Linked DNA regions of Homo sapiens: regions 2, 3 and 4 are each linked to region 1. Evidence: promoter capture Hi-C in 16 types of primary human blood cells and fetal thymus (Javierre and others, 2016). All regions are on one chromosome and are shown on one strand. Each heading gives the region's core, a stretch centred on a gene start or on the middle of the fragment in contact. The rest is flanking DNA. Distances are from core to core; before and after follow the strand shown.

Region 1 (2,700 bases), core at 157-2,656:
GGGCAGCCGTCAGCTTGGAGCAGAGCCCCGTTGAACGGGCTGAAGGGTGGAAGTCCAGCCAGGACTGGAGTCGGGTCTCAGAACTCCCCAGCCATGCTCTTTCCTGTTGTCCCTCCGTGGACTGCTCTATCTGTGCCAGATGGTCAGTCCCTAGGCACCAGCAGAAAACTGTGTGGCCCACACACATTGCACACCCTGCGTAAAATTCTAGATTGTCCCCTAATGCCCTCTAGGTGTCCACCAAGGTTTGCCATGGAGAAGATCATCTAGCCCTTCCCACTTTCCACCTGGGTTCTTGAGAAGTTTTTTCTTTGAAAGTCTCAGCTCCTGAGCCTGGCGTGGATGGCCTTCATAATCTTGTCTTTTGTGTTTCCAACCTCATATCCAACTCGCCACCTCCAAGACATCCTGCACACTGACAGCTCCCTCTGCATGAATCCACCATTCTTTCTAAGCCTCCATCTCTCTGCCCAGGTCCCCCAACACACACACACACACACACACACACACACACACACACACACCCAACTCTCTAGAGTGTTCTCCTCTCAGCTCTGCTCCAGAGACTGACCTTCCTTCTACAAGGCACATCAAGTGCACAGCTTCGTGAGTCTTTCTCTAGTCACCAGAGAGAACTGCTTCATCCTCCGCACACGCCTCCACCAATGCCTTATTGTGTCCTGCAATTGCTCATTGTTTATGTGTATGTCTCACCCACTAAGCCATCTGGAGTCTTTTTACTTTATTTTTTTTTTGAGACAAGGTCCCACTGTATCACCCAGGCTGGAGTGCTGTGGTGCGATCATAACTCTGCAGAATTGAATACCTGAGCTCAAAGGATCCTCCAGCTTCAGCCTCCCAAGTAGCTGGGACTACAGGCACGGTCACCACGCCCAGCTAATTTTTGTTCATTTTATATAGAGACGAGGTCTCACCATGTTGCCCAAACTGGTCTTAAACGCCTGGACTCAAGCAATCCTCCCACCTTGGCCTCCCAAAGTGTTAGGATTATAGGTGTGAGCCATGGCCTCAAGCCTGGAGTCTTCTTTAATGGCCAGTTCTCCTCCTCTTTTTTCTTGATGTCCTCAGGCCCCGAAGCACACGATGTCAGTCCCCAGTGCACCTTTGTCGAATGACTTCACAAAGCCACCTCTCATTTCCCTGGATGTGGAAGGACAAATGCCCTCTGCCTCCTGCCCTGCCCCTGTCATACCAAGCGCCCAAGGCCCCAGCCCCACTCACCTGAGAGGCTGAGAAGGAGCAGAGCAGGGGGCAGCCACATGGCTCTGCCTTCCCGGCTCCTCGTCCGCCTGATCTGCAACCAGTGGCAAATGCAGATCCCAGATGCACTCTGGAAGTTCTGCCTGAGCTCTGGCTTGCACCTTCTGCACATCTAGACCGCCTTTGACTTTCTTACTCATTCACTTCCTTTTATAGAGTGGGTAGTTCCTGCTTTTAATTATTAAACGAAAGAGGTGTCATTTTTTGGCAGGGCTGCGCCACAGGGCTTAAGCATCGTCACTATGTAAAAAAGAGGAGGGAGGGGACTGTGCAGGGTCTTTAGGGTAGGGGGAGATACGTCTGCAGAAGGGGTGGGGTGGGGGGCGTCTGGCCTAGCAGGCCTTGGGTCCAAGGGGTATAACACTCTGGGAGTCAATTTCAGAGCTGTTCTATACCACAGTGAACACCCAACTCAGATGTCGGATGGGTCATGCTGGGCACACCTGAACATGCATTTGTTCAGGTGTTATAGCCAAGTGCATAAACATGCAGACTGTTGGGTCAGACAGACCTGGCTCTAACCCCACGAGCACCACCTACAAGCTGCGTGACTGTGGACAATGCAATCAACATCTCTGTGCCTCAGTTATTGTATCTATTAACTGGGCTCATAATGTTTGTTGTTGTTATAGGAGTTATTAAGAAATTATTTTAGGTAGATAGGAAAAGGGGTGCTTGGGAAGATTTTTTTTTCTTTTAAAGCAGCTCCATAAATGTTTCTTGTCTAGAAGAAAAGCCCTGGCTCTTAGAGCTGGGCAGGCAAGCTTTGATATGCAAATACAGGCCATTAGAAACTGCGTCCACCCAAACATGGAGACTCCCGCCTCTTCTTCTTTTCCCCACGTTCCTGGCAACATGGCCGCCCCTACATACACCCATGTGTGTAGAACATCATGGCGCCTGTATTTGCATATTAAAAGGCTAGGGTAGGAAGGCTAGTTTTTTCGTGGGCTACTTGAATGACATACCTGGTCAAACCAATCCCCTGGGCCCTATGCAAATCAGGTACCGCCTCCTCCAGCCTCCTCATATAACTGGCTGTTTTCCACCGTACTCGAGGTTCCCTCTTTCAGCTTGGAGCCCGCCTCCCTCAGTCTCAGAACAGGGGGAGCCTCTTCCTTCCTTCTTTCTTGTCTATTAAATTCTCCACTCCTTAAAACCACTCCACGTGTGCCCATGTTGTTTTATTCAAACCAGTGGGAGACCAAGGACCCTAGTGTTCCTCCAGTCATCAGAGCCATACCATTTTGTTGCATTGGCCGGGAATCCAAGGTACGACACTCATCGGAGTGGTAAGTATGGGAGTGAGCTTAAAATCTCTTCTATCATTCCGAGGCACTCTTAGCCTCTATTTTAAAATAAAATAAGTCAATGGGCATCCGTCAGCCGGGTACATACACTTAGTGTTGGCTGCCATAC
Region 2 (2,700 bases), core at 39-2,538, 250 kb after region 1:
GAGGTGAGAATTGGAGATAACTCAGTTTAGAATGCATGCATTGGTCTTCATTATCAAGACTGCAGTAGAGCCTATTCCTCAGCTTTCTGCCACTGCTTCCCAGGAGTCTGGCCCACAGAACTGTCCCACGACCAGCAGAAGAGAACGTCTCCTTTCTCTTCCTTCCCCACAACCCCTCCTGACCCAACCTGTGGCTCAGCCCAGATTTGCTTCCTGCCTCTATGTCTGTTCATTGTGATTGGCCATCACTGATTACCTTTACAGAAGGTGAAGAGGACTGAATGCTCGCCAGGAGTGCCACAGTCCTGAGAAGGCAGAGAAGTCCTACGTTACCCTGCAGGATTCCCTGAGCCCCCACTAAACACACAGGGCTTGCTTTGGAACTGAAAAAATTGCAACAAAGCAAGACAACTGCAATTACCCATTTCTGCTCCCAACTGCCAATAGTTTCTCTCTTCATTCATTTCTTTGTAAAGTTCTTAAAGGTTCCTAAGTTTCTTTTGGGAGCATGCTTATTTCATTATACCTCTCTCTACAGCAGTGGTTGTCAACTAGCGGTGATCCTGCCCCCCAGAGGACAGTAGGCAGTGTCTAGAGACATTTTTGATTGTCAGGACAGTACTGGTTGGAGAGAGGTTGTTACCGGCACCTAGTGGGCAAAGGCCGGGGATGCCACTAAACATCCCACAATGCACAGGACAGGTCCCCATCATGAAAAAAGACCTGGCCCCCAAATTTCCATAGTGCCCAAGCTGAGAAACCCTGATCCACAAGAGACCTTTGACTTTTACATCCCAAGACCTTCAAGCATCCCTGAATTTACAAATGCCTCTTATACTGTTTAGTTTCCCCATAAAACTTTTGCCTAAGAACCATTACTTTCTTTTTTTTTTCTTAAGACAGGGTCTCACTGTGTCACCCAGTGAGCAATTACAGCTCACTGCAGCCTTGACTTCCTGGGCTCAGGCGATTTTCCCATCTCAGTCTTCCAAGTAGCTGGGACTACAGGCACTTGCCACCGTCCCCGGCTAATATTTTTATTTTTTTGTAGAGATAGAGTCTTGCTACATTGCCTAGGCTAGTCTCAAACTGCTGGACTCAAGCCATCCTCCCACCTCAGGAGTTCTGGGATCACAGGCATGAGCCACCATACCTAGCCTAGAACTGTCACTTTCTTATGCCTCTTTGCTTTCTCTTTACTTCCATTATGGGAACATCATTCTCCATAAAGAAATAAGGTTTTTTTCCCTTCATAAGTATTACTGCCTACAGAAGCGATAAGCAGAGAACAGAGCTGCAGGGAGGGCAGATGTTAGGTTTTCCGCTGGGGTCTGTTCTGTTAGTGCCCTGCTTAAAATGCTCCAAAACATCCAACCCCCTGTGCCATCCAAAAGGGCTCTTCGCAGTCTGACTGCAGCCTCTTCCAGCCCCACCCCTGCCCGGCTTGCTGTGCTTCAGCCACACAGGCCTTCTGAAAGCTCCTCGAGCCTACCTGCCTCTTTCCCACTGTAGGCCTCTGGGCCGGGAAGTCTCTCCCTCGTCTATTGCCTGGGTAGCACCTTCTCATCCTCCAGCTCCCTTCCTGGGGTATCCACTGTTTCCAATGCTTTCCCATTGTGTCTTCTCACAGTGCCCTGATTGTTTGCTTCATAACGCCTCTCTCAAGCTGTAACCGTAGTTGTTTTCTTCCCAGGCTGGAGCGCAGTGGCATGATCTCGGCTCACTGCAACCTCTGCCTCCCGGGTTCAAGTGATTCTCATGCCTCAGCCTCCCGAGTAGCTGGGATTACAGGCGTGCACCATCATGCCCGGCTAATTTTTTGTATTTTAGTAGAGATGGAGTTTTACTATGTTGCCCAGGCTAGTCTCGAACTCCTCAGCTCAGGCAATACACCCACCTCAGCCTCTCAAAGTGCTAGGATTACAGGTATGAGCCACCACACCCGGCCTGTAGTTGTTTTCTTGTTGTCTGTTTCCTCCTCCTTAGAACGTAGCCCCGTGAGTTCAAGGGCCGTATCTGTCTGGTTTATCATTGTATCCTCAGCTCCAAGCACAGGGCCCGGTCTGTAGAAGGCTCTTGTTGGTTTTTGAATAAATGAGCAGAACTGAGCTAGCTAGATGACCCCTTCCCACCCTTGTACACATGAGCATGAAAGTACCAGCAAAAGTAAACATGAGTTAGTTATAGACATTCACAGTCACTGTGAAAAGCCAGAACTTCCCATTCAGAAGACCAGCAATGGGCTGTGTGTCCCCTGTCTCACCCAACTGCTGCCCTCAAAATTATTCTAGCAGCACCACTCTGAGCCAGGACTCCCAAAGGGGAATCATATCACGATGATGATGTGATCCAACCAAAGCATAGGAAGATGATTCAAACTTGTTTTCATCATTCTGGGATTTGTCTGTGGGATCAAATTGAGATTGAGGGCTGGGCGTGTTGGCTCACTCCTGTAATCCCAGCACTTTGAAAGGTCGAGGAGGGTGGATCATCTGAGGTCAGGGGTTCGAGACCCAGCCTGACCAACATGGTGAAACGCTGTCTCTACTAAAACTACAAAATTAAGCCAGGCATGATGGTGGGTGCCTGTAATCCCAGCTACTCCAGAGGCTGAGGCAGGAGAATCACTTGAATCCAGGAGGCAAGGTTGCAGTGAGCCAAGAGCACGCCACTGCACTCCAACTTGGGCAACAGAGCGAG
Region 3 (2,700 bases), core at 148-2,647, 220 kb after region 1:
TCTTCTGGGGCCCAAGGCAGGTTGCAGGAGATCCAATCCCATAGACAGCTCTGGGCCTCTTGCATTTGAGTTTTTCAGAATTAAACTGCAGTATTTTGGAAAGCACATCCTGTCCACTGTTTCTTTGAAGTGAGTGGGGGGGGGGGGTCTTGTTGAAGGAATTGTCATTCACTGCCAAAATCATTCCATCCTCCTTCCTCAGTGTCTGTCCTCAGATGGTCAGCTCCCCGCTCAACAGACTGTCTCCCGCCTCTGTGACCAGCCTCTCTTTGGCAAGAGGGAGCTAGAAGGCTTTACAGTCCTAATCATTTTTCTGTTGGAAAAAAAAAAAAAAAACCAAGGCTCCTTTCCCTGTGGCGTGTACCCAGAGGTTGATTACCTGAGTCTGTCCTGCCTCTCCCCACCCCACCTCCCTAGCCAAACGCTGCTGCCAAAGCCCACGCTATTGCCCTAGATGGCCTGTCTTCAGCGGGCTGCCCCTCGAGGTCCCAGGCTCTCCGCGGAGCCCTCACCTTCCCAGCAGGGATCAGAACCTGCACTCCTCTATGCGAGTCCTGGGACAGCACAAAGTGGATTAGGGTTAGGGTTCCCACAAACGGAAAAATGTTATTCAAACAACTCTGTAGGGTCCGAGGAGGCCCTCCGTCTTAATTCTCGAGACTGACCGGCCCTCGCTGCCCCGAGCGGGAGCAGTTGCCCCGGCAACAGCCGCTCCCTCTCAACTGGAGCTGCACCCAGGCTTTGGCTAAAGGCTGTTAAAACGTTGGCCAGGTGCGGTGGCTCACGTCTGTAATCCCAGGGCGGATCACCTGAGGTCAGGAGTTTGAAACCATCCTGGCCAACATGGCGAAATTTCGTCTCTACTAAAAATACAAAAATTAGCGGGGCGTGGTGGTGCGCGCCTGTAACCCCAGCTGCTCGGGAGGCTGAGGCAGGGGAATCGCTTGAACCCGGGAGGCGGAGGTTGCAGTGATCCGAGATCGCGCCACGGCAGTCCAGCCTGGGCGACAGAGCGAGACTCCGTCTCAAAAAAAAAAAAAAAAGTTAGGGTCCTTTACCCGAGGGCCGGCTTTCCTCACTCCCCGCCACAGGTAGGGGAAACCAGGCCGGAGCCGGCGGGCCCACCCGCCCAGAACCGGGAATTCGGCGAGCCCCGCCCCTGCCACCCCAGCGCCGGCCGCTCGGTAACAAACACTTCCACTTCCTGAGCGCTAGTCTTCGCCCGCCGCGGGGCGCCGCGCCGAGCGCAGGCCCCGCCCCGCGCGTTCCCAATGGCCGGCGCCGTTCACCCGGCCGGAGCGCCCAGGCCTGCAGCCCCCTATTGGCCCGCGGAGGTCCCCACCCTCAGCGCGGCCCCGCCCCCGGGGTAAGGAGCCGGGGCGGACTCTGGGACGCTCAGACGCCGCGCGGGGCGGGGATTGGTCTGTGGTCCTCTCTCGGCTCCTCGCGGCTCGCGGCGGCCGACGGTTCCTGGGACACCTGCTTGCTTGGCCCGTCCGGCGGCTCAGGGCTTCTCTGCTGCGCTCCCGGTTCGCTGGACGGGAAGAAGGGCTGGGCCGTCCCGTCCCGTCCCCATCGGAACCCCAAGTCGCGCCGCTGACCCGTCGCAGGGCGAGATGAGCGCGGACGCAGCGGCCGGGGCGCCCCTGCCCCGGCTCTGCTGCCTGGAGAAGGGTCCGAACGGCTACGGCTTCCACCTGCACGGGGAGAAGGGCAAGTTGGGCCAGTACATCCGGCTGGTGGAGCCCGGCTCGCCGGCCGAGAAGGCGGGGCTGCTGGCGGGGGACCGGCTGGTGGAGGTGAACGGCGAAAACGTGGAGAAGGAGACCCACCAGCAGGTGGTGAGCCGCATCCGCGCCGCACTCAACGCCGTGCGCCTGCTGGTGGTCGACCCCGAGACGGACGAGCAGCTGCAGAAGCTCGGCGTCCAGGTCCGAGAGGAGCTGCTGCGCGCCCAGGAAGCGCCGGGGCAGGCCGAGCCGCCGGCCGCCGCCGAGGTGCAGGGGGCTGGCAACGAAAATGAGCCTCGCGAGGCCGACAAGAGCCACCCGGAGCAGGTAAGCGGGGCCCAAGCCGCGCAGGCTGGCATGGAGTGGGAGGAGGATCCGGAGAGACCCAGGTGCCCCGGCCGTCCAGCCCCGCGCCCGCCGTCGTTTTTCTGAAACTCGAGCTGCGAGGGGGAGACCGCTTCCGCCCGCCGACCAGGCGCCCTGACACATCCTAGGCAGGCCTGGGGCTGCGTCCCGCGACCTCCTCTCCTTCCCAGGCTGTGCTGGGAGCTTGAGCGCCTTTGCCGCCTGCACCTCTTGTTCCCTGGCCTTTGGGAGGGCGGCGCAGGGGAACCCAGCCCCCTTCCCTCGGGTCTGTGGGTGTCTGCTCCCGTTCCTCGGAATCCCCCAATCCTGCTCCTTCCCTGGTGCCCTCTCCTCGTTCACCCCAGTCCGCAGATGGGCCGGGGAGAAAGGGCTCTCCGCCCCAGAGGTGCCAGCTTCGCCCGCCACTCCTACTTCAAAAGCTAGAGGAATAGCATTACTCCTCCTGTGTGGAGCCCCGGCGCGAGGAGGCCCTCTCCGCAGCCCGCCGGTGTGTGTCCTGAACTTCAGTCCTGCTGGACTTCATCCTCCCGGAGTCCTGTGTGACTTCTAAGGGAGAGGAAGCCCCACCATCTCAGGGCGGTGTGGGGGTTGCCTGGCAGGGAGG
Region 4 (2,700 bases), core at 109-2,608, 240 kb before region 1:
GCCTGTGGACCTGGGGCAGAGGACAGACCTTGGGTCTGGGTGATGCAGGACTAGGGGTGTGAAAGGTGTTTGGGAAATGACTTGCCTCAGATCCCAGCTCTGGGGAATTCATTTCACTACCACGACTGACTTAGGGGCCTGGGAAGTACCTAGCCCAGTCCCAGCACAGCAAGAAAGAACTCTTTTCTGAGGCAGGGCTGACTCATGGTGTGCAAGCAGGGCCAGTGGCTGTCAGCAAGGGGTGTGCAGGAGAGGGCATGGCGGGGCAGAGGCTGCCCTTCCTGTTGCCCTCCAGCCCTGCTGGGCTCTAACCTCGTATATGGACCACCAGAGCAGGATGATGCATTAGAAATCATCCGAGGGGCCGGGCACTGTGGCTCACGCCTATAATCTTAGCACTTTGGGAGGCCCAGGTGGGCATATCATCTGAGGTCACGAGTTTGAGACCAGCCTAGGAAACATGGTAAAAACCTGTCTCTACTAAAAATACAAAAATTAGCCAGGCGTGGTGGTGTGCGCCTGTAATCGTAGCTACTCGGGAGGCTGAGGCAGGAGAATTGTTTGAACCCAGGAGGCAGAGGTTGCAGTGAGCCGAGATTATGCCACTGCCTGGGGGACAGAGCAAGACTCCATCTGACAAAAAAAAAAAAAAGGGGGAGAAATTGGGGAACCTCACATCCAGCCTTCTGCTCTCTTCCCTCTCCCCTGCAGGGACCCCCAGGAAATCAAGAGGGCTGCCACACACCTCTCCTGGCACCCCGATGGCAACAGGAAGTTGGCAGTGGCATACTCCTGCTTGGATTTTCAGCGGGCACCTGTGGGCATGAGCAGCGATTCATACATCTGGGACCTGGGTGAGAAGCAGCGGGGTCCTGGTGGCCTGGGAGGGCTGAGGGCTGGGACCAGCACAAGTGGAGGAGCGGGAGGGAGGGGCAGGAGGTCAAGGACACTCACGCGGTTGGTGCCTCAAGGGAAGGGCCCGCAGTCGAGGAGGAACACACTCTTCTCCTTCCTCTCTTGTCTGGTTTCAGGCAGAGCCAAGCAGAGTCAAATCAGAAGCAGGAAACCCCCACCAATTCCAGATTCTTAGTTCGAGGCATGAAGACCTGACCCCATGGGATCTCAATTCTTAGCTCCTAAGGAGCATATCAGGCCGGGCTCGGTGGCCCATGCCTGTAATCCCAGCACTTTGGGAGGCCAAGGCAGGTGGATCACCTGAAGTCAGGAGTTCAAGACCAGCCTGGCTAACATGATAAAACCCTGTCTCTACTAAAAATACAAAAATTAGTTGTGCTTGATGGTGGGTGCCTGTAATCCCAGCTACTTGGGAGACTGAAGCAGGAGAATCGCTTGAACCCAGGAGTCAGAGGTTGCAGTGAGCCGAGATCATGCCACTGCACTCCATCCTGGGCAACAGAGTGAGACTCTATCTCAACAGCAACAACAAGACAGAGTGCCCAGCAGACTGAGAAGGGACTCAAGGGGCGGCGGAATGGAACTTGTGCCTTTGTCCCATCTGTCCTGACACTTGCCTTTAATTCATGGCCTGCAGGGGCAGCGTGTCCATTTATTAGCACAAACCATTGTCTACAGAAGGGCTGGCAAGACACAGGCAGGGACAGGGTGGTGGTGGCTTCACGCTCTCCAGCTTCCCTTCGTTGTCAGCATTATTAAAATAAACATGTAGGTGCCAGGCAGAGAGCTAACGCCCGACATTCCAACAGCTCAGCGAGTTCTGGCAGCAGCCCTATGGGGTGGACTCCGTCATTATCTGCAGTCCACAGACCTGGTTGGAAGAAACCGGCAGAGAGTTGACTTTGTGTAAAAACTTTAGTATCAAAACCTCGTTTCACACCAAACCTAGGAACTGGACTAGAAATATAATTATCACACACATACGCACACCCCAATCCTGTTCACCAAAAATAAAAACCATCAGCAAAGCCCCTAGGGTCAAGAATGCCAGATTCTGGCCAAGGTGGACCAGGGGGTGCAGGCTGGGGAAAGACTGGAGGGGCTTCCAGGCTTCCCCCTCTGCCACCATGCCCCCGCTACCCACCCGCAGAAGGGGTGAAACTGGTTGATCCTGTCCTTTTCTTTCCGGGCCTGGTGGGGATAATTTTTTTGTGCTTTATAGAAAACCCCAACAAGCCTGAACTTGCTCTGAAGCCATCGTCTCCACTCGTGACGTTGGAGTTCAACCCCAAAGATTCCCACGTACTCCTGGGTGGCTGCTACAATGGACAGATAGGTAAGGAGGGACCTAGGCTTTTTTATTTTTATTTTTATTTTTTTTAGATGGAATTTTGCTCTTGTTTCCCAGGCTGGAGTGTAGTGGTGCAATTTTGGCTCACTGCAACCTCCGCCTCCTGGGTTCAAGTGATTCTCCTGCCTCAGCCTCCCGAGTCGCTGAGATTACAGGCACCCACCACCACACCTGGCTAATTTTTTTGTTATTTTTAGTAGAGACAGGGTTTCACCATGTTGGCCAGGCTGGTCTCGCACTCCTGACCTCAGGTGATTCACCCACCTGGGCCTCCCAAAGTGCTGGGATTACAGGTGTGGGCCACCACACCTGGCCGGGACCCAGATTCATAGTCAGAGCCAATCCTGCTGCTATAGGGCAGAGCCCACATGGCAGCCTGGGCTCGGCCACAGAAGACTAAGTGGGGTGAGGGCCTCCCATAGCTGACCAACTGC

The links. The method cuts DNA at HindIII sites, captures the fragments that hold promoters and counts their contacts. A CHiCAGO score of 5 or more calls a contact.
Region 2: a contact is called between a fragment that was not itself captured here and the fragment with the promoter of CD300LB in region 1, in 1 of 17 cell types (monocytes). The highest score is 6.5, in monocytes.
Region 3: a contact is called between the fragment with the promoter of NHERF1 here and the fragment with the promoter of CD300LB in region 1, in 2 of 17 cell types (neutrophils and monocytes). The highest score is 5.9, in neutrophils.
Region 4: a fragment that was not itself captured here is called in contact with the fragment with the promoter of CD300LB in region 1 in 1 of 17 cell types (M1 macrophages); the score reaches 5.1 in M1 macrophages.

What each region holds. Positions count from the first base shown.
Region 1 is chr17:74,530,069-74,532,768 of GRCh38, forward strand. It overlaps CD300LB (CD300 molecule like family member b), which reads right to left and starts at 1,407. Exons shown (of 4, transcript NM_174892.4): 1 at 1,243-1,407. The coding sequence starts at 1,282. It overlaps LOC107985074 (a long non-coding RNA gene), which reads left to right. Exons shown (of 3, transcript XR_007065902.1): 2 at 2,479-2,573. The HindIII fragment of the contact is 3,995 bases long and covers 1-2,043 here.
Region 2 is chr17:74,780,420-74,783,119 of GRCh38, forward strand. All of the region lies in intron 2 of SLC38A12 (solute carrier family 38 member 12), which reads left to right. Among named protein-coding and RNA genes, the nearest start is that of SLC38A12, 5.3 kb to the left of the region's middle. RefSeq lists a silencer at 566-735. The HindIII fragment of the contact is 4,846 bases long and covers 1-2,700 here.
Region 3 is chr17:74,747,231-74,749,930 of GRCh38, forward strand. NHERF1 (NHERF family PDZ scaffold protein 1) reads left to right here and starts at 1,398. Exons shown (of 6, transcript NM_004252.5): 1 at 1,398-2,057. The coding sequence starts at 1,617. SLC9A3R1-AS1 (SLC9A3R1 antisense RNA 1) reads right to left here and starts at 2,637. Exons shown (of 3, transcript NR_187307.1): 1 at 1,833-2,637; 2 at 1,343-1,697; 3 at 1-313. It overlaps MIR3615 (microRNA 3615), which reads left to right and starts at 1,383; the gene lies at 1,383-1,469. RAB37 (RAB37, member RAS oncogene family) reads left to right here. Exons shown (of 9, transcript NM_001006638.3): 9 at 1-105. RefSeq lists enhancers at 1-547, 1,836-2,461 and a silencer at 942-1,631. The HindIII fragment of the contact is 23,505 bases long and covers 1-2,700 here.
Region 4 is chr17:74,288,883-74,291,582 of GRCh38, forward strand. It overlaps DNAI2 (dynein axonemal intermediate chain 2), which reads left to right. Exons shown (of 14, transcript NM_023036.6): 5 at 712-854; 6 at 2,138-2,251. Among named protein-coding and RNA genes, the nearest start is that of DNAI2, 16 kb to the left of the region's middle. RefSeq lists an enhancer at 216-716. The HindIII fragment of the contact is 3,992 bases long and covers 1-2,700 here.